Regions from separate parts of the Homo sapiens genome. Here all the other regions are linked to region 2. The links are contacts of gene promoters, found by promoter capture Hi-C in blood cells and fetal thymus (Javierre and others, 2016). All regions are on one chromosome and are shown on one strand. Each heading gives the region's core, a stretch centred on a gene start or on the middle of the fragment in contact. The rest is flanking DNA. Distances are from core to core; before and after follow the strand shown. Region 1 overlaps LOC401478 (a long non-coding RNA gene). Region 2 holds the start of KHDRBS3 (KH RNA binding domain containing, signal transduction associated 3). Region 3 has its middle 950 kb from the start of LINC02055. Region 4 has its middle 390 kb from the start of FAM135B. Region 5 has its middle 970 kb from the start of LINC02055.

Region 1 (3,738 bases), core at 284-2,783, 2.4 Mb before region 2:
ATGAGAAAAACATTTCTTGCTCAAAGGGTGCTTCGGAAGCCTAGAGGTTATGCAGGAAAAATCCTATCAAGGATATGCTCCAAGCAGATGATGCGTTGGCGTTGGTGGTGGTGTTTTTATGAGATGATTTTGTTGCAGAGGTTATGCTTGTCCTGCCCTTATTCCCCAGACCTTATCACTTCAGTGTACTCTTATTGACTGACTTCCAACTACCAGCACCTTAATTGCTTTGACAGGGATTTCTACAGAGCTGCAGGCCCAGTAGAATGGCAGGCCCCACAGCCGCCCTCAAGCAAGGGATGGTTTGAGTTTTTATATAAAGACATATTTCTTGAAAAATGCTAAGAGAGGGATGTTAAGTGTTCTCACCACAAAAATGATGGCTGTGCAAGTTAATGCACATGTGAATTAGTAAGATTTAACCAGTCCACAATGTAATATAGACTTCAAAACATCATGTTGTACATGATACTTAAAATTTTACCTGTAAAATTAAAAAATGGATACATTTGGAAGAACAAAAGAAGAAAAATGAATTTAGAGTTGCTTGGCCCTCAGATGAAATAGTTTCTCCACGGGACTAAGCACCAGTTGTCCAGAGCGACTTGCTAACTCATCCTTCACTGTCTCCTCCTGTTCACCCTGCCCTGTCCTGGCTCTCTACAGCTTCCAAATAACAACTTGCATTTGCATCCTTGATTTGAAGTGTACTCCCGGGAGAATCCAAACCCTCACTCTTCTTTAGAATGCACATCTGTTATAAACCCTTGTTAAATTCAAGAGAAGAAACAGCTTTTAAACATTGAAAGTAAGATGTGAAAGAGAATTTATGGACTGGGTTTCAATTATATTAATCCACTCTCCGTGTGTCTTAAGTTGTTTCCTTAATGTAAGGAAGGGAACTTTATCAAGAAATCTTAATGCATTGCTTCTGCTGTTCCTGCCCCTTCCCTTTCTTTAAGGTTTTGGCATCAGAAAGTATGGTGTTTTAAATACAATACAGAGTTTACTTATAAAGAGGCTGAGGATTCTAGTGATTTAAGAAAATATTAGAGTACTAGGAGCCAAAGCAAAAACTATTGATGGGGCTCAATAAGGGAAGCTATCAATATCAGCATTAGAAACCTGGACTAATTTAGAAAATAGTGATCTTTTGTGGCTGCATGTGGTGGGTCATGTTTGTAATCCCAACACTTTAGGAGACCAAGGTGGGAGGATCCCTTGAGCCCAGGAGTTCAAGACCACCCTGGACAAGATGGTAGGACTCTGTCTTTACAAAGAATTTTGTTTAAAAATGTAGTTGTGTGGTGGTGCCACATACCTATAGCTCTAGCTATTTGGGAGGCTGAGGCAGAAGGCTCCCTTGAGCCAAGGAGTTTGAGACTGCAGTGAGCTATGATGATGCCACTGTACTCCAGCCTGGGCAACAGAGCAAGGCTCTGTCTCTTAAAAGAGAGAGAGAGAGAGAAGAAAATAATGATCATTTAATGTGAAGAATCCTAAATGTTTTATTAATCTCTTATCTACTGTGACTACATTTTGGGAATCAATTTTTGGAATCAAGAATTAATTGGAGGGACTCATTTTCACAAACATTTTGTAATTCTTGATATGACCATATGCTCCTCAATTATTTTTAATTTCAATACCATCACATATCAATTGAAAACCATATGATGTGTTCGACGTTCATCTTCTCAAGTGGCATTCTCTCTCTCTGTCTCTCTTTCTCTCTTTTCTTTTAGAAACGTGGTCTCGCTATGTTGTCTAAATTGGTCTGGAACTGTAACTCCTGGGCTCTAGTGATCTTTCCACCTCAGCCTCCCAAGTAGATGGGATGACAGGTGGGAGCCACAGCTCATTTGCTTTTTTGATAGATGGTTCATTATTTAAAAAGCACCGTGACCAGATTCCTATGCCATGCTTCAAGCCTCCTAAAACACCTAGATACTATTTATCTCTGCTCTTCTAGATTTCTCCATCCACATATCTTTACTCATAATGGGCTGTAACTGACCTTCAGCAAAGGTGACCCTGGACTTCAGCAGATGTGTTCTAATGCAACCAAGATCAACAGAAACACCATCTACAGTATGAGAACCTCATAGCTCTCTATGTTCACTCATTCATATTTCACTCTTGTGTCAGAATTTCCCATTTTTTCCTTTTATTTACCCAGTGGTTAGATTCTTGAAAACTGGTGGGTATCTAGCAACACTTCATTTAAAATAGATAAACGGATGTCCTCATCAGAAACACAGATAAATCAGAAAATATATTCTGGTGGTTTATTTTTGTTTAAAGCCAGTGCTATCCTTTACTGGTTGCTATTGTAACTCATTCTCAAGCTGACGTCATTGCTATCCCCTGGCTTTAAAAAGTAATAAAGCCCAGTGATCTCAACTTTACTTCTCTATCCCCTACTTTGGTCTTTAATTTCACCGCAGAATAGATACTCAAAAAATAATTATTGAGTAAGTGGATAAATGGATGAATGTGAACAGTGAACAATTTAGGGAAAATAAATTTTAAAAATGTTTATTGAGAAACAACCAAAATTGCTAGCAATGTATGACAAAGACAGACACATCTGACCACTCCACTCCTGGTACAACTATTCTCCATTGCTGGTCTTTCAGGACAGTCTTGGGGAAATGCAGAGATATTCCAGAGTAGCACATTGATCTCCATGTCTTTGTCACATGTTTCTCTGATGGTGCTTTCAGTGAAGTGTGGTTAGTAATCCGTTGTCTGAGGTCTGTTTCTTTCCAGTGTGATAGAGAACCTCAATATTGACTCCAAAGGGCATAACCTTTCGTGGTCTTCTTCTGATAGTGTCCCTGTGTTGTTAGATGATGTTCTGCAGAAATCACAAAGAATAAACTCACACATATGTACCATCAGGCTGCAATGGGAAGTTAGGGGCAAGCAGAAGGGGGATCATGCACTTGGATTAATGTCATGCTGCATTTGTCAACACAATGCCTTCTCAACATTTCACAAGCAATGCAAAACACAGGAGTATGCAATCCACACGTTTATATTTTAAAAGAGTTGAAAGTGTAAATTCAATAGTTGTCATATAAGAGGCTGGCATATACATTACTACATGTCCTTGCAGTAAAACTTATCAAGTACTCTGTAACCATCATCCCCAAAGTGCAATATGAAGCTTTCGTTTATGAAAATTACATATTAAAGACATAAAACGACCAAAAACCAACCTAACTGTCCTTGTTTTCAATTAAGTTGGAATATTGTTAAGGAGACCCAAATTGTATTCCCAGGCTTGCTGATTAATTTCCTCAGGTTGGTTCTATCATTCATTTCCATAACTTTATTATTCAGGGGGATAATTGCTGCAAAAGAAATAATGATTCAGAAAGGTAATTCTATCTTGACACTTTTGCAGGACTTTTTGCAGATGCTTCATACCTTAACGAAGACTGGAGAAATAAGAGCTTTTGAAAGATAATTATAACTTCTTTCTTCCCTGTCCATGTTATTGATTCTTCATACACAATAGCAAATGTGTTTCAATGAAATAGCCAGATTTCAAGTACAACTAACTAGTTTTTCTTTTTTATTGTTCTGTTTTCTTTAAAATTTGCTCTCTTTTCCTTGGTATAATATTTTTCCTCCTTTCCTTTCTTCTTTCCACCCTGTCTTTCTGTCTACCTATTTTTCTTCTTCACAAATTCATTCATTTTTAGTTATTTTGTATTTTTAGCATATGGC
Region 2 (3,815 bases), core at 1,280-3,779:
CTAAACTAACAGTAAGACAAGATTCTGAGCAGCACCTCCTCCTTCCTTCACATGTGAGAAATATACTTCTTATAAGAATTACTTCTATGAAAAGTAAGTTTATCAAGTTGAATACCTAAAAAACACTAAATGGCAACATTTCCCCAGTAAATATCTGTTTCAAGTAACTGGAAGCCATTAACACTGGTAAAAACACAGAATCCAAAAGAATTTTGGACGTTTTAGCAACACAATACTATGGCAACACGGCAGAGAAAATAATTCTGACTTTTAAAATAAGATAACGCACTGTACTTTCAGTTTAACTGTTCCTTAATTGAGTACAACCTAACTTTGATTCAGCTACTTTATTAGGAAAAATGCACTTGAGTCCACAGTCCAGAATATTTCCAATGCCACGGATCTCATGCAATGTATGAAGAAATTTCTTTCACAGAGATGACAGCCCAGCAGGCAATAAAAGATACATGTAAATCATCAGGCACAGGAGTACAAACTCAACTGCAGAACTGTTCAGAGGGCATAGAAATAAAACTTAATTTTTTTTCTTTTATTTAGGAATGCATGCCCATTCACTTTTTCACAAGCCCATTTTATTAAAGAAATAAAAATAAGCCTGCAATTAAAATAAAATGAGGGAGCTCCATAAGTCTATTTCTGTTCAACAATTCAAATATTCTTAAATTCTTGGAGACAGTAAAGAGTCTCTCCTCCACCATCGGTCAACCACACACACACTCTACTCTGAAGAACTGGTTGAAACAGGCAAAAACTGGAGGTCACTGTTTTAAAATATAGGTATCTATATACAAATAGAATATGTCTGCCTCATCTTTCACTTCCAACAATAAAAAAGCCAGGGCGAGCACTAAGAGCAGCAGATCCGATTCATCTAGGGAACCACAGACTGTCAGTGCACAGTAATTCCTGCAAAAGGTAACAGATCTGACCAGATCATGTTGCTGCCATTTCCCAGAGAAAAGACAGACCAGTGGCACCCACACCCATCTTCATCTGAAACACATATTCCAGGAAAAGTAGGAGACTGCTCCCAGGAAGGAAGGCTTAATTTACCGTGCATGCCAGCAGATGATTCAGGAAGCCACAGGAGGAAAAAGCCAGGGGAACACTGTCCCGGGTAGGCGTGCCTCCAGAAATCTCTGTATCCCTGACCCGCAGTACTTCCTAGGATCTTTCACACCCTGAGCTGGCTGGAGTCGTGTGAAAATGGCAAGGACTCCCTTCACCACTATTCCGAACCTCAAGCCAGCCACCAATGAGGGTCACCCAACCCAACGCCCTCCGGAACGGTGCTCTTTTGCCGGCCTCTTCTCCCCTACTGACTTCTCCAAGGGCCAGCCTGCAAGGCTTGGCATGGGCTGCCCATCCCCTGGGAGGGCTGACTGCCCCGCCAGGGCTGTTGGAGCCTGGACACAGGAGAGACAAAGGGCTGGGAGGGGGAACTGGGCTCCTCCCCTGGGACCACGGAGCTCCTCTCCTCTCAGGTGCTGGGGTCTGACCCCAACCCTCTTCCAAGGTCCCCAAACTTCGCTAACAATGCAAGCACCTGTTCCCTTCACCTCTTCTGCATTTGAGTCCCTCAAGTCCTTCCATTTTCCTCCAGCTTTTTCTCCAGTACCTTAGACAAACCAAACGCCCTACTTCCCCGAGTCCAACACGCTCCCCTTCCATGACATAATTCAACCTCGTTCCCAACGAAGCCCCCAGATGGTCGCTGTCCCCCACCCAGAAGTTTCCCCTGGGTGTGCCCGAGTCCCCAAAGATTTCCTTCAAGTCTCACCCATGCGCCCCAGCCTTCTCCTTCCAAGTCCCCAAAATTCACATCAGGGTCTTCCCCTAGGTGTCCCACAGCCTCCCAGGTCCCCGTGCAAACGACCCCGGGGGCCACCCGGGCCTCCGTCTCCGCCGCGTCCGCTGACAGCAGAGGGCACGGAGGGGCCCCCTGGGCCCCCGCGTTTCCACCCGGCCCCCAACCGCCGCCGGCCGGCAGTTAACGGCCGGCGCCTCACCTTGGTTCACCAGGCGCAGGGCGTGCGTGAAGGAGGGGTCCAGGGAGTCCTTCTCCGCCATCAGCTCGGGCAGGTACTTCTCCTCCATGCTCGCCGGCCGCCGGGCCCGGGATGTGGACTCCAGGCGCACGGGGGGCGGCGCCCGGCAACCCCCGACCCCGCCCGCGCCCCCAGCGGCGGGGACCCGGGGGCCAGACGCGGCAGCAGCGGCCAAGCCGGGCGGTCGGCCGGAAGGCGGCGGCGGCGGCACGGGGGCGGGAACCGACCGCTCAGCCCCGATCCCCGGTGGCCGCCGAGTACCCAGCGCCGGCGGCCCCCGCGCTCCGGGCGCGGGCCGAGGAGGAGCGGGCGCGGGCGGCGCGGTTAGGCGGGCCCTCGGGCCGAGCGGGCTGCGGCGCCCCTGAGGCAGTCCACGGCGATCCCCGCCAGTCCCGCCAGCACCTGCCAGCACCCGAGCCACAGCTGCGACCTGCACGCCGCGCGCCGCCCCGCGCACTCTGAGCCACCGCGCCGAGCGCCCAGCGCCTGCCGCCGGCCCCGCCCCGCCCGGCTCCGCCCCGCCCCGCCCCGCGCCCGCCGCCCCGCCCTGCCGCGCCGCGCCTGCGCACTGGCGCCCACCGCCCCGCCGCCCGCCGCCTCCTGGGGCCGCTCTCCACTGCGAGTCCGCCGGGACTAACCGGGCGTTTGCGAGAGGGGGTGCGTCCAAGGGCCCCTCCCGCGTGTCCGGCGCCCACCTTTGGCCCTGAGGGCCGAGTGGGGAGCCCCACGACGCTATTACAGCCTTTCAGATGCACGGACTGGGAAACTGGGGCTCAGAGAAGTCAAGTGGCTCGCCCAAGGTCACCCAGCGAGTGATCCTGGGAAGAGGGGACAAGGGCCGAGCTGGAGCTGGGAAGGGCGCCCCAGTTCGCCCCAGTCGCGCTCTGAGGAATAGCAGCGGGACCGCCCTGCTCTCTAAAGCTTCCTGGACTTCTCTAAGTTATGTCGCGTTGCTGTCCCCTCGTACTTATAAGAGAGTAAGGCAGGGGCGCCGTCCTTTCTCCGCGCCTGAGCTCAGAGCGCCAACCTCCTGAGATCCGCCAGCTCAGAGGTCGGTTACATAAAAGCGCGTGCCCTTCTGGGCGTCTTTGTCATCCCGACTTGCTCCTGGGTTGTCATTCTCTTAGGTCATAAACCGGCTGTGCCTGGACACAGCTGAGTGAGCCGCGTCTGAGCTCATCCGCTCCTGGGGAGAGGCCCTGGGACGCCCCGCCTGTCGGTGGCAATGCTCTCTGTCCCCTTCCGCCCACCCCCAACCCCCAGCAAATGCTCTCCAAGGCCATTTCAGATTTCCCGAGGCATGTGGAATAAACGTCCCCCAGGAAGGCGAAGGACTCCAGTCCTTGCCCTGCCATTTTTCCTGCCTTCAAACAGCCAGCTCAAGTCCCGGCCTCAATGTCACCTTCCCTGGACAGCCTCTCAGGACCTCCCTGGCAAAGCAAGTCACAAGTCCCTTCTCTGTGTCCCCCCAGCTTGGTCAGAGGTCATTCACAGACAGCTGTAATTCTGTTTTCAGTAGACCATGAGCATCAGGGACAGAGTTTGAGTTTTGTTTTTGAGGGGGAAGGTCACCAGTGTGTAGTACAGGGGGCAGGGATGGAGGGTACTGGAAATGTCTCTTGGAGGAATAAGTCAGTGGCATACCACTCTCAGCCAATAGCCTGAGGACAATCGCCACAGTCCCCCAGGCAGCCCCCCCGCACTCCCAATGCAAATGGAGGCAGCTTTACAAACCCGAGGGGAGTG
Region 3 (4,039 bases), core at 145-2,644, 2.0 Mb before region 2:
CTTCTTCACTTGCTTTTACCACAAAGTTCCTCACAGAGTAGTTTATATTCCTTTTCCCTCGTTACTTCTATTTCCCTTAAACCCAAGCCAGTCAAGCACTCAGGCATTTGCCCTTACCATTCCACAGAAGCAGTTTTGGTCAAAGTCATAGTTAATCTGAATGTTTCCAAATTCAGTGGTCAATATTTAGTCCTCATTTCACTCAAACTATCAGAATCCCTGTCAAGAAAGCTCTCTACTACCTTCTGATTCAAAATGTTCTTCACTTATTTCCTAGTCTCTCTCTCCCACTCTCTCTGGTCATCCCTTGCTCTGTTGTCTCCTCGTTTCTGCTACAGGGGTCCTCTCAATAGTTCAACTTACATCACCTCAATGTCCTGATTTTGCATTTTCTGAAGTTCAGTTATTGTACTTCCTCTCTCTTTCTATGTCTTTTCTCTCTCCACCCAACCCTTAGGTGGTATCATATGCTCCCATGGCATATTGGGCATCTATGTACTGACAATTCACAAGTCTCCCCGTTCCATCTTTCCAAACCTTAGAATCAAGTGTCTGAATGCCTGCATAATATTTGGTTGCTTTACAGACATCCCAAGCTCAACAAGCCCAAGGGTGTTGGCTAGAGAGATGGAGTGAAGCTTAATTCTTTGTATCTTTAAAGTTTGGCAAAAATATAAAGTATACATGGGCCTACCACAAACTAAATGTTCTTGTCCCCCAAAAATTCATATGTTGAAGTCTCTATTTCCAGTGTGATAGTATTTGGTGATGAGGCCTTTGGGAGATAATTTAGGTTAGATTCTGTCATGATGGTAGGGGTTCAATGATAGAATTAATGTCCTTACAAAAAAAGAAAGATGCTCTCTCTCTCCCTCTCTCTCTCTGTCTCTCCCTCCCTCTTTCTGTAAGAATAAAGCCAAAGAAAGGCCATGTGAGCACACATTAGGAAGCCTGCTGTCTATAAGCCAGGAAGACAGCTTTCAACAGACACCAAATCTGCCTACACCTTGATCTTGGACTTCCCAGCCTCCAGAACAGAGAGAAATGCATTTCTATTATTTAAGCCACCCAGCCTATGGTAGTTTGTTACAGCATCCTAATCTGATTAAGTGAGGGTCCTTAATAAATATTGGTTGAATGTGCAAATAAACAAATTAAATGAGAAAATATACACAACTAGAGCCTTAAGATCATCTTAAATTAATGAATTCCAGCTCAGCAATCTGATAGTTTAATACCATCTGTAACATTCTCTGCAACAGTCACTCAGTTATATGAAACTTCCAGTAACAGAAGAAAAACTAACATTTTTCACAATTAGCTCTTATTTGGAAGGACATTCCTTGTGATAAGTGCAACTCTTCTCTTCCCAAATGTTCACTTATTGTACCTCTCTTTGGTCTCTGTGTTTTTACTGAAATAACCTATTGACTCTTACAGATGGTAGCTTTTCAGACACAGGAAGGCATAAAGACTTCTTAACAACACATAAGCTGAAGCAGACCTGGGGCCACAGACATCAGGCTCCTGGTCACAAGAGGCTTTTTCTATCAAGAAAAGCTGAAACTATTCCAAGTAACCATCCTGCCCTCACATATCATCATGTTTCTCTTTTGATTTTTGACAAGCTCAGACAAGCACAGTTCATTGGAACACATATTCTCCTTTGGCCCAACTACATGGAGACACACAATGTTAAAATACAAGGCACTTAAAATACTACCTATTTCTTACCCCTACACCCCGTGTTCAGTGTCCAGAATAACAAATAGAAGCCAAAATCTTAATCCTTCTAGTTGACTCTGATTTTTCTCCTTGACTGCTACTCTTCTTGCAGTAACAAACTCTTGCTACGTATGTGATTTTATTTCTCATTCTAAGACTCATGGTCACTCCTAGGCAGAATTAACTTTCCCTGGGTGAACTATATCACTCTCTATTACAAATGGAAAATCTGAAACTATATCCGTCTTCTTTCATTGGATTAGTACTTCTGTCTGCTTTCATTACTGGCTGAATTACTGTTTAAACTCACCAAGTCTTGACCATGGGGCCAGATTTTGGCATTAACTACTTGGACTGTGTTTCTGCTGGAGTTCCCTTGCTCCCTCAAGAAAATATCTAATATGAATTAATTAAAATTAAGCTTAGGGGAAGTTTTGGTCCTCTAAACCTCTATTGCTTTCCCCCTAGCTCATTCTAGTTTCCACTTCCCAAAGACAAAGTATCCTATTGCCATCCTTCATCATTTCTATTTGTCTGACTTGAAATGTTTCAACATCTCACCACCTGGACTTGAGGTATTAATAGAATCTGGTGGGCTTAGACATGCTTAAAGCTCAACTTTCCAGAATTTCTTAAGTAATGTCCTTGCATATTGCACATTCTGATCCATTTTCCACCTGTACCAGCACAATCTGTTTAATATGCAAATCATATTATGCCATTCATTTGCCTAAAGCTCTTCAGTAAATTCTCATTGCACTCCTAGCAAGGTTCAAACTCTTCATAGTGATAAGTGAGGACTTGTGTAAATTTATTCAGCCTCCCTCTTCCATTTTATCTTCACCTTGCACTCATGACCAGACTGTTCCCACTAAAAACCCTTCCTCCCCTGTGCATCTGCTTTCTCAATGGCCCCTGCTGTCATGGACTTCCATTGTCAGGAGCCAAGGATGCTAACAACTGCCAGGTGGGGAAGTGGAACAGTTTGGGTGGGATAGATGGGGATGGCCTCGCTAACATGGTAACATTTGAACATACCCCTCATAGAGTTAGTAGAGGACATGATGAGAATGTGGGAGAAAAGAGAGCTCCAGGCAGTGGAGAACGTCATTGTTCTAATGACCCTGAGACAGAGCGTGCTTGGCGTTTTCCAGAAATAGCATGAAGGCCAGCGTTGGTAGAGCAGAGAAAAACAAAAACAGGGGGTGATAGACTGAGGGTAAATTAGAAAAAAAGATTATGTAAGAATTTAGGGACGGTGATTAGGACTTTGATTTTTTTTAATAGGTTAGGTCATTTTGAGGAGAGGAATAAGTTACTTAAACACCCATTTGTGAATTCAAAAAAGTAAGAAAGAAAATGAATCTGGGAGGTTACATGAGTAGACCAATTTCACTCAGTCAGTAAGAGTAGGACCAGGACTTGCATTCAAAGCTGGAACTGAAAACAATGTGATTTCAGCAGCTGCCTCAGAATAGAGTAGCTTTAATAGACGCAGGACACAAGAAACTTAATGAGAGGGGGAAAGTCCAAGCTTGGTAAGATAGGAGTTGTGACAGAAGAGAGCTTATAATGTCATGGTAGTATTTTTTAAACTTTATTTTACATTTTGTGATATAACCTATCACTTATAGGACAAATTGATATAGGGTGGCCATTCTTTTTTGGTAGGGAATGGTAAAGAAATATGTAATGATTACATTTATCCTCTAATTTGCTCCTCTTAAAATTTCCATCAGCCCTGAAATGTAGCAGTTTCACTCCCTTTTTGATGACCACCTGCTTTTCCAATCAGAGTGGCAAGACTGCTAACCTTGTCCTAAACATGTGTCTTTGTTGTGAGTAGCTATCTCACTAGCAGAAGATTTTATTTTATTTTACAGTCTTGAGAACGTAAAATAAATAAGGAGCCTGAAAGCAATCATGTCAGATACATCTTTCAAAGATTCTGCCAAGATCTGTCAACCTGAGCCTCTAAATAACCAGTGACAAATGTTGTGTTGACATATTTCTCTATTTCCTAGTGAATAATTAACGGCAAATGTCAAGAAAGAGTGGTGTAATAATTTCAAACAAATAAAAATCTACTTCCAATTCATGTCAAGCATCCATAGCCTCTCCATTATAGATATACTTCTGAAACAAAGAAAACTATTTGCAAAATCATCAGGAAACTAGGTGCCTTCTAGGAATGGTGGAATTTTCCTCCTTTCTTTTCATTGTCAGAGCACAAATAAACAGAGAGCTAAAAGTGTAGAGAAGCAGCTGAAGACATTTGATGAAAGGATCTGTTATTTCTCTGGCATTAGAGGCA
Region 4 (4,061 bases), core at 608-3,107, 2.7 Mb before region 2:
CTTGGAGGCCTCTGCTAATCTGTCCCCATGGGATTCCCGGAGGGGTGCTAAGGTTGCCTGATCCAGTTGCTCCAAGATCATGGACAGAGTCAGAGAATGAAAAAAGACAGACATTTGCATAGAAATAAGCAGGTAAGGCAAATTTATCCCCCAAATCTACCCCTTTTAGGTCTGCAATGCCCACCCCCCCCCCGCCCATTAAAAATATTGCGTAAAATACTATTTCATTCAAACCTCACAGACAGCTGTCAACTTTGCAAAACAGTTGCCAGCTTGGCATTGTATTAACACTGAGGATGGGTGAGCAACAGTTTTGTGCTTGTGTAAACAAAGACACATTGTAACCCCTTCCCCTGTCTCCACCCCCACTTGAGGGAACTGGAGTCTCCATCTGCAGACTCAGAAAACTACTGTGCCTTAGGAGGACGCCCTCCAGACTCCCCTGAACATCATTCCCTACTCAGACAAGTCTCCAAAGTCTTTACATGTGTGAAACATTGTTGACATTCTTGCCTCTTGAGCTATTCTGTAAATATGAATGCTTCTTTGTTACTTTCCCATTATTCCTGTAGAGAAACTGGGACCCAAAGATAATGCAAGGTGATATAATGTGCAAAGAGCTCTAGGGATATAGAGGCAAGGAGCAATGATGCTTAGGGGAGGTGGGGTGGGGGAGTTATAATGAGGGGGAGATTTGGCTGGATTGTGAACAAAGATCCAGAGTTTTCCAGATAGAGGATGGAGGGAGGAGGAGCAGGCAAAGCAAACAGCCTGTGCAAAGGCACGGGTACAGGTGTGCAGGAATGCGTCTGGGGACTGACGAGGGCTGCCTTATGCTGAGGGAGGAGGGAGGCTTTGGGGTAGGTCCTGGCTGCATGTGAAATTAGAAGAGCATCATAAGCACAATTTTCTGAACTGGAATAGGACGAGTGAATGGATATTATAGGTCGCAAATCCACGTTACAGAGCTTATGCAATAAAATGCTTAATATGCAATAAAACTCTAAAGTGCACAGCAAATCGACGCTAAAAGCTTAGGACATGATGGATGGCATCAGTCTGACCATTGCTGGGTCAATTCTGATGGCCATATGGGAGCAGGCTGAATGCCAGCCGCTAGAGCAGGGGACTGTCAGGGCACATTGCATAATTCTAAGAACAACTATGATCTAGTGTTGAGTGTTTTTATTGTGTGTACATTTTTAAGTGATATTAGTTATAAAAACTGATATTATTACATGCTAAGAACTCTGCCTAGCACCATGCATGTGACACAGCTTGCTGAAAATGGTGAAAAGCTGACGTAGCACCACAAACCCATCTCTAACCAGTCAAAGGCAGTTGGATACCAAAATCCCCGGTGGGACGCCTGGTGCATGCAATTGCTGGCCCAGTGCCTGTCAAATAATCAGCCCAGACATGGCTAGGTAACCAACAACACTAAGAGATTGGTGCTTTGCTAAAGTGGATCAAAGGTAGCATGCAGGGACTTTAGTTTTAAAGAATGTATTCTACTTCTCCCCCACTGACTCTGATCTCCCAGGGCTTTGGTTCCTGAAGGGATGGGGCCTCCTGTTGCTAGTAAAATTTCTATCAATACCATTCTTGTTTCACTCTCTTAGTCTATTTCTTTAAACACAGGCATCATGCCATATAGTCCTCAAAACCCCATGAAATACGTATGAATATTACTTCCATTTTATTGATGCAGAAACAGAAACTTGGAGAGTAATTTGCCGACAACACACAGCTGACAGGGAGACCAGGACACCAGCACTTAACGTCAGGGAGTCTGGGCCAAAGTCTTTGTTCTTAGAGAAATACCACACTGCCAGCATCAATTCCCCTCTGTTATCTTTTTATTGTTCCTCTTTATTTACTTTTATTTCAATGAATTAGCTTATTCCAAAGAGAATATTACAGGCATAGTCATTTGACAGATGGGGTGTAGGGAGAGAAATGGCAGGGTCATGGAGGGAAATGACCTACTACTCACTGTTTCCAAAGGTAAAAATAATTGACTAAAGTTTCCTGAAGATCTGCTCTGTTCAGCAACACTAATATCAATTCCTTCTTTCCTTAGACTACAGAGACATTGGTGTTTTTAGAGCTGGTAGTTCCCCTTAAAATCATCAGTTCAATCACTTTATTTTACCAATGAGAAAACTGAGGCTCAGAAAGGGCACCTCAGTTGCTCCAGGACACACGGTTCAGTGACCTAATCTACAGGATACCAGGAGATTTGCCCCCAGCCCCATACTGGTAGCACCACTCCCTGCGTCCCTTTGTATATATGTGTGGTATTTATTAACAGCTTCTAAGCCAGGAGGTTTTACTCTTGCTTCTCCATCAGGAGGCTGGGGGTTGCTTTTGTTCCGAATCTCCTTTCCTCTACCCATCTCATAAAAAAAAAAAAAAAAAATGATATCCCCTCCGCCAAAAAAAACAAAAAACCGAAACAAACAAAACAAAACTTATGTCTGGCTCAGGAACAGAATAACTTTTCCTCATATTTTAATCAGTAGGCTCTCTAAGTCCTTTTAAATTGACACCAGTTGTTAGACTAATTCTCATTAAACCCTGGGCATGTAGGTTGAACGTTAATATTTGCTTTTTGGCTTCATATCATCTTCATTTCCCCCAATAATATATTTTCCAATAAGTGAAACGGAAAAAGCTTTTGGCCATGTTTCCTTTCCCATGCCCTTTTCCACCTTGCCCTCACTTCTGCCCACTCCATGGGGCCCATGGAGGCTTCTCCGCCTGCATGGAGGATGGTAATTAAAGATGAGTCAGAGTAATTGGAAATGGATCTTGGGCTCAGAACATCAAGGGAAAATAAAATCTGTCCTTGCATTTATAAAAAAAGCTCATTTCACAGACATCATTTAAAGATATACATGAAAAACATCACCTCCTGTTAAAAAAAAAAAATCTTTAATGGCTTCTCATTGCTCTTAGGGAAAATCATCTAAGTTTCTGCTGAGATCTGAGCACAATCATGACCCAGCCTGGTGTAAGCTCTGATTCTTTTGCTTACCGTTAAATCTCCCAGAACCCAGCACAGTGTCTGGATCATGAATTGTATGTGTTGTTATTATTCATTCATTCACTGTCTACTATGAACCTACTTTGTGCTAGGCGTTGAGGATGGAGGGGGGCTAAACAATCTTGGAGACTCCCTCAGTCAAGTGTGCACGTCGCATCCCAAGAGTGGAGACTTCTGGAATGATGAGTAAGGAGCTCAGTGGACTTTATCCCCAGCACAACCACAACTTCTCTGGTGAGAATTATTTTAAAAAATCATCAGAATTTCAAAAACAAATTTGCACCAAATTAAGTAGGGAAGAAAGAGTTTATTCAAGGCCATTGCAATAGAGGAGCGAGGCCAGGACTCAGTCAGAGCTGAACTTTGCTGAAACAAAAGGCAGGAAGGACTTCAAGTGCTGGAGTGTGAAGGAGATCATGGGCCATCTGTGTTTGTCAATTGATTTTACTCAAGAAAAGTAAACATTTTCACCTTATGACAGGAGGGAGTCCAACAACTTGGAGCAATGCACTCACCAAAGTCAGGCTCCCACCTTGTAGCAGAGGCTGGGAGAAAGGGACGGTACTTCTGTGACGATTGTGTTGCAAAGAGATGGTTCCCAGGGTCCGGAGATAGACAGTTCTGGGTTGTGAAACTGACAAAAGGCTTGGTAAGAGATTTATATCACAGGGGCTCGGAGAAATAATGCACAATTAATAGTTTTCTAAAGTAAATATTCCAAGAAAAGAGAGTCCAAGGGTCCTAGAGGCAGGAAGAAGCCTGTCTAAAGTTTAGTCAAGGTGGTGAGGAAAATGTGAGGGCTGTCTTGGAAGTTGTCCTAAGGGCATACTAAAATGGAGAAACAGTCATTCAAGAAAATGTACTAACTCTCAGTGAGAACAGTGGAAGCCTGTGACATTTGAGCCCGACACTGCTTCACTGCTCGCATCAAGGTCCATGTTACAGAAGTTCTATCTTGGCACATTCAGCCGAGGAGATGGGCTTCCTCTCCCTCAGTTCCAGTCTGGGCTAT
Region 5 (3,782 bases), core at 550-3,049, 2.0 Mb before region 2:
TTTTTTTGTTTTTTTTTTCTTATTACTGTCTTATTCTATTTCCCAATACCTTCCATTCTTTGATATTTTGTTTTATAAATTAAGTTCTCAATACATACTGTAGATTAACTTATTGATCATCATCCTTTTCCTTTTTCTTTCTTTTTTTTTTTTTTTGGGACAGAACCTCACTCTGTCACCCAGGCTGGAGTGCAGTGGTGCGATCTCAGCTCACTGCAACCTCCGCCTCCTGGGTTCAAGCGATTCTCCTGCCTCAGCCTCCCAAGTAGCTGGGACTACAGGCGCCCACCACCATGCCCAGCTAATTTTTTTTTTTTTTGTATTTTTAGTAGAGACAGGGTTTTACCATGTTGGCCAGGATGGTCTCGATCTCCTAACCTCATGATCCACCTGCCTCGGCCTCTGAAAGTGCTGGGATTACTGGCATGAGCCACCGCGCCTGGCCTAGTCACCATTCTTAACTCTCCTATAACATGAAGCATTATACATCCACCTCCTTGCCATGGTCTGGTAGCAGGTGAAGGCTACTTCTTTTGTCTATGGCTTTGAACTTGGCCAATGTGTCATTGCAAACATGATGCAAGTGGGGGCTTAAAATGTGTTTGTGAGATTTCACCTGCTGCTTTTTACTTCTGTCACTGCCATGAAAAAGTTATGCAACATTTTCCCTTCAGCCCAGAAGAATAAGAGAAGTGGGCCAGACGTGGTTCTAATTCACAGCCTGGAGACGTGTTCAACTAGACCAACCAACTCTTGCTGACTCACAAATAGGAAAGGCAGAAATAACCTTTGTTTTTTAAAAAAAAAACCTTTGTAAAAATACAGAGATGATATCTCTCTACTTTTTTTTATCCTCCAAAATAACATCTGCTCAAGAGTGAGCCTTTTATTTTTTTCTATCTAGACTGCCTTTGCCTTTCACCAAAATATTTACCCAGAGCCTAAAAGGTATCATGGATTGTATCAGTTGCAATGAACACAGGAATGAATGAGGACACGAGGATGAGTTGTTGTTGCTGTTGTTTCTTAGATTATCAGTAGACTGTGATGAATTTACATCACTGGATGTGTGCTTAGCGAAGTTTTGCCTTTCTCTGTTTTCAATGCCAAATCCACTCACTATGAAGGGCCATCTGTAGCATTTTAGAAAGAGCCTTGAGAAATTTACTTATAGTGGCTTAAATCTTCAGACTGCCTTTACCGTAACTCAGGGAGTTGGGGGAGAGAGAGAGAGATATCAGTGATCTCTCTGGAGAGTTTTGTGGTGTACATGATGCCTGTCCATGTTCATTGGCCAGACTTCATCATATTATCCCAAGAAAATGTAAGAGTTCTGAGAAATGTAGTCTTCTTATTTGTTAAGGACAAAAAGGAAATAATTTGATGGGCATACAATATTGGCTCTGCCAAATGAGGCATCAAAGCTTCAAACTGAAGGGACTGGGTATGGCAGAGATTGATACTATTTATCATTTTGTGTTTTTTTCCCCGTTTCCTATGCACACAGGAAGACTACAATTACCAGCCCTCTTGAGATAATTTTGTACCATAAAACTATGTTCTCTCCTTAGGAGAGGACCAGGGCAAAACTCCTGGTGCAGTACACCCCTCAGAGAAGCACACTGATATTGCTGACAGAGAAGTGCTAATACCTGGTGAATCAGAACACAAAGCTGGGACACATCTCAGCTCTGAACGTGAACAAGAGTAATTCTGATTCACTGGTGCATGAACATATATATTAGAATGCAGATGGACTGAAAAATTGGGTTGATACTTACATCTTAACTTACCACCAAGTCAAGTTGACGAAAGAGAAAATATATTTTCTTGAGGCAATTGTTTACGGTATCTCTGTGCTTCCAATTCTGAGTCCCTATGCCTAAGCTGCTCCCAGGTTCCCACCAGCAATTCTGTTCTTTTTAGCAGAGGGAGTTCATATTTCTCTACCCTGATGCTTACTTTCCTCATATGCAGCAAAGACCCATCAAATAATTAAGTATCTCTATGAAAACATTTACCTTATTGTGTTTTATTTTGCCTATTTTAGACATCCAACTCTTCCTCCAGGGAAAATTCGCACACACACACACACACACACACACACACACACACTCTACTATTTCTCATTGTTTCATGAGCAAGAAACATTTTGCTCTGATGTTAAAGCTTGAAGTAGATGATTTTGAAAATAAATGTATGAGTAGACAATTGTCTTACAAAGAGTCAAGAGATAGATAAGATTTGTGAGAGTAACCACATTTATTTCCAAAAGAAGCTTTCATTTTTAACTTCTATTGAAGTTGATTTACTTCTGAAAACATTGAACGATAAGCAATATTAATGTAAAGTAAATAAATAAATGTTTTCAAACACAATTGTGAAGTAAGACACTAATACAAAAATAAGCTGGAACAAATACAAGCTATGTTTCTCTTCTCCCCATTATGCCCTAAAACTACAAACTAAATTACACAGTACTCTTTAATCTCTAAAATTGTCCAAATTGAGGTAAACAATTCAGAATGCCTCATGCATAATTTATTAAGGATTTCACAGTGTCATGTATTTGCCCTAATTCAATAACATCACACTATTATAATTTGACTTTTAATATATTATGGTTATTTATTAAATTTTAAATGAGTCTCAAATTTGCTTTCTGCAGATTCAAAATTCCATGTTCATAACAGAACTAGACAAAAAGAACTATTTGAAATCTCTGTTGGGTCTTTGGAAGTCTTTGGGAATGGCACTGAATGACACAGTTTCCCTGCACATACACACACTCCCACATGTGCCAAGGCCAAAGACGGCAGGAAAGCTGATGTCCAAATGAGAGGAAGACTCCTGCAAAATTCGAGGAGAGCTCTCTGGTCAAGATTCTGTTCTAGGAATAATTGTGTACTTCATAGGAAATGCTCAGGCTTTTACTGAATACATTAATATTCTTGGGAAATTTTTTTCTTTATTTTTTCTGCAAATAAGTTTGAATTTCACAGCAGGAAATAAGGCAAAGCGGGAGCTTTGTATCATAAACATATAAAGTCAACAAATAGGGTAATTCAAAAGCATATCATTATAGTACCCATTACAAGCCCTTCATTATGAATTCAACATTTTCCTTTTCTACTTTATACATTGGTGATGTCAGTTTATAAATAAAACTATGGCTGGGCACGGTGGCTCGTACCTGTAATCCTAGCACTTTGGGAGGCTGAGGCGGGTGGATCACCTGAGGCCAGGAGTTAGAAACCAGCCTGGTCAACATGGTGAAACCCCTTCCCTACTAAAAATACAAAAATTATCTGGGTGTGGTGGCATGCCCCTGTAGTCCCAGCTATTCAGGAGGCTGAGGCTGGAGAATCGCTTGAACCCAGAAGGCGGTGGTTGCAGCGAGCCGAGATCACACCACTGCACTCGAACCTGGGTAACAGAATGAGACTCTGTCTCCAAAAAAAAAAAAAAAGAAAAAGAAAAACGAAGGTATATTTATGAAGAGTCAACCTAGCACCTGGCAGGAAGCTAGCAGAGTTCTTAGTTCATTTTTGTTGCTATAACCGAATACTAGTGACTGGATAATATATAAATAAAATTAGTTTGCTTCTCATAGTTCTGGAGGATGAGAAGTCCAAGGTCAAGGGGCCTGCATCTTGTATGGGCCTTTTTGCTGAGTCATCCCATGGGGGTCAGCAAACAGGGACATGCAAGAGAGAGAGGAAGAGAGAGAGACAGAGAAACAGAGAGAGAGTGTGTGTGTAATGGGGCTGAATTCATCCTTT

What was found. Contacts are between HindIII fragments. The CHiCAGO score rates a contact against its expected background, and 5 or more counts as called.
Region 1: a contact is called between a fragment that was not itself captured here and the fragment with the promoter of KHDRBS3 in region 2, in 1 of 17 cell types (M2 macrophages). The highest score is 6.4, in M2 macrophages.
Region 3: a contact is called between a fragment that was not itself captured here and the fragment with the promoter of KHDRBS3 in region 2, in 1 of 17 cell types (M2 macrophages). The highest score is 7.3, in M2 macrophages.
Region 4: a fragment that was not itself captured here is called in contact with the fragment with the promoter of KHDRBS3 in region 2 in 1 of 17 cell types (M2 macrophages); the score reaches 8.7 in M2 macrophages.
Region 5: a fragment that was not itself captured here is called in contact with the fragment with the promoter of KHDRBS3 in region 2 in 1 of 17 cell types (endothelial precursors); the score reaches 5.0 in endothelial precursors.

Annotation. Positions count from the first base shown.
Region 1 is chr8:137,839,356-137,843,093 of GRCh38, reverse strand. The region is part of intron 2 of LOC401478 (a long non-coding RNA gene); the gene reads left to right. Among named protein-coding and RNA genes, the nearest start is that of FAM135B, 660 kb to the left of the region's middle. The HindIII fragment of the contact is 3,283 bases long and covers 1-3,174 here.
Region 2 is chr8:135,456,170-135,459,984 of GRCh38, reverse strand. It overlaps KHDRBS3 (KH RNA binding domain containing, signal transduction associated 3), which reads right to left and starts at 2,529. Exons shown (of 9, transcript NM_006558.3): 1 at 2,031-2,529. The coding sequence starts at 2,118. It overlaps LOC101927872 (a long non-coding RNA gene), which reads left to right and starts at 2,010. Exons shown (of 4, transcript XR_002956731.2): 1 at 2,010-2,103. RefSeq lists a silencer at 2,358-2,657. The HindIII fragment of the contact is 3,136 bases long and covers 1-2,992 here.
Region 3 is chr8:137,477,712-137,481,750 of GRCh38, reverse strand. No RefSeq gene overlaps it. Among named protein-coding and RNA genes, the nearest start is that of LINC02055, 950 kb to the right of the region's middle. The HindIII fragment of the contact is 1,508 bases long and covers 641-2,148 here.
Region 4 is chr8:138,109,144-138,113,204 of GRCh38, reverse strand. No RefSeq gene overlaps it. Among named protein-coding and RNA genes, the nearest start is that of FAM135B, 390 kb to the left of the region's middle. The HindIII fragment of the contact is 1,644 bases long and covers 1,036-2,679 here.
Region 5 is chr8:137,500,534-137,504,315 of GRCh38, reverse strand. No RefSeq gene overlaps it. Among named protein-coding and RNA genes, the nearest start is that of LINC02055, 970 kb to the right of the region's middle. The HindIII fragment of the contact is 745 bases long and covers 1,427-2,171 here.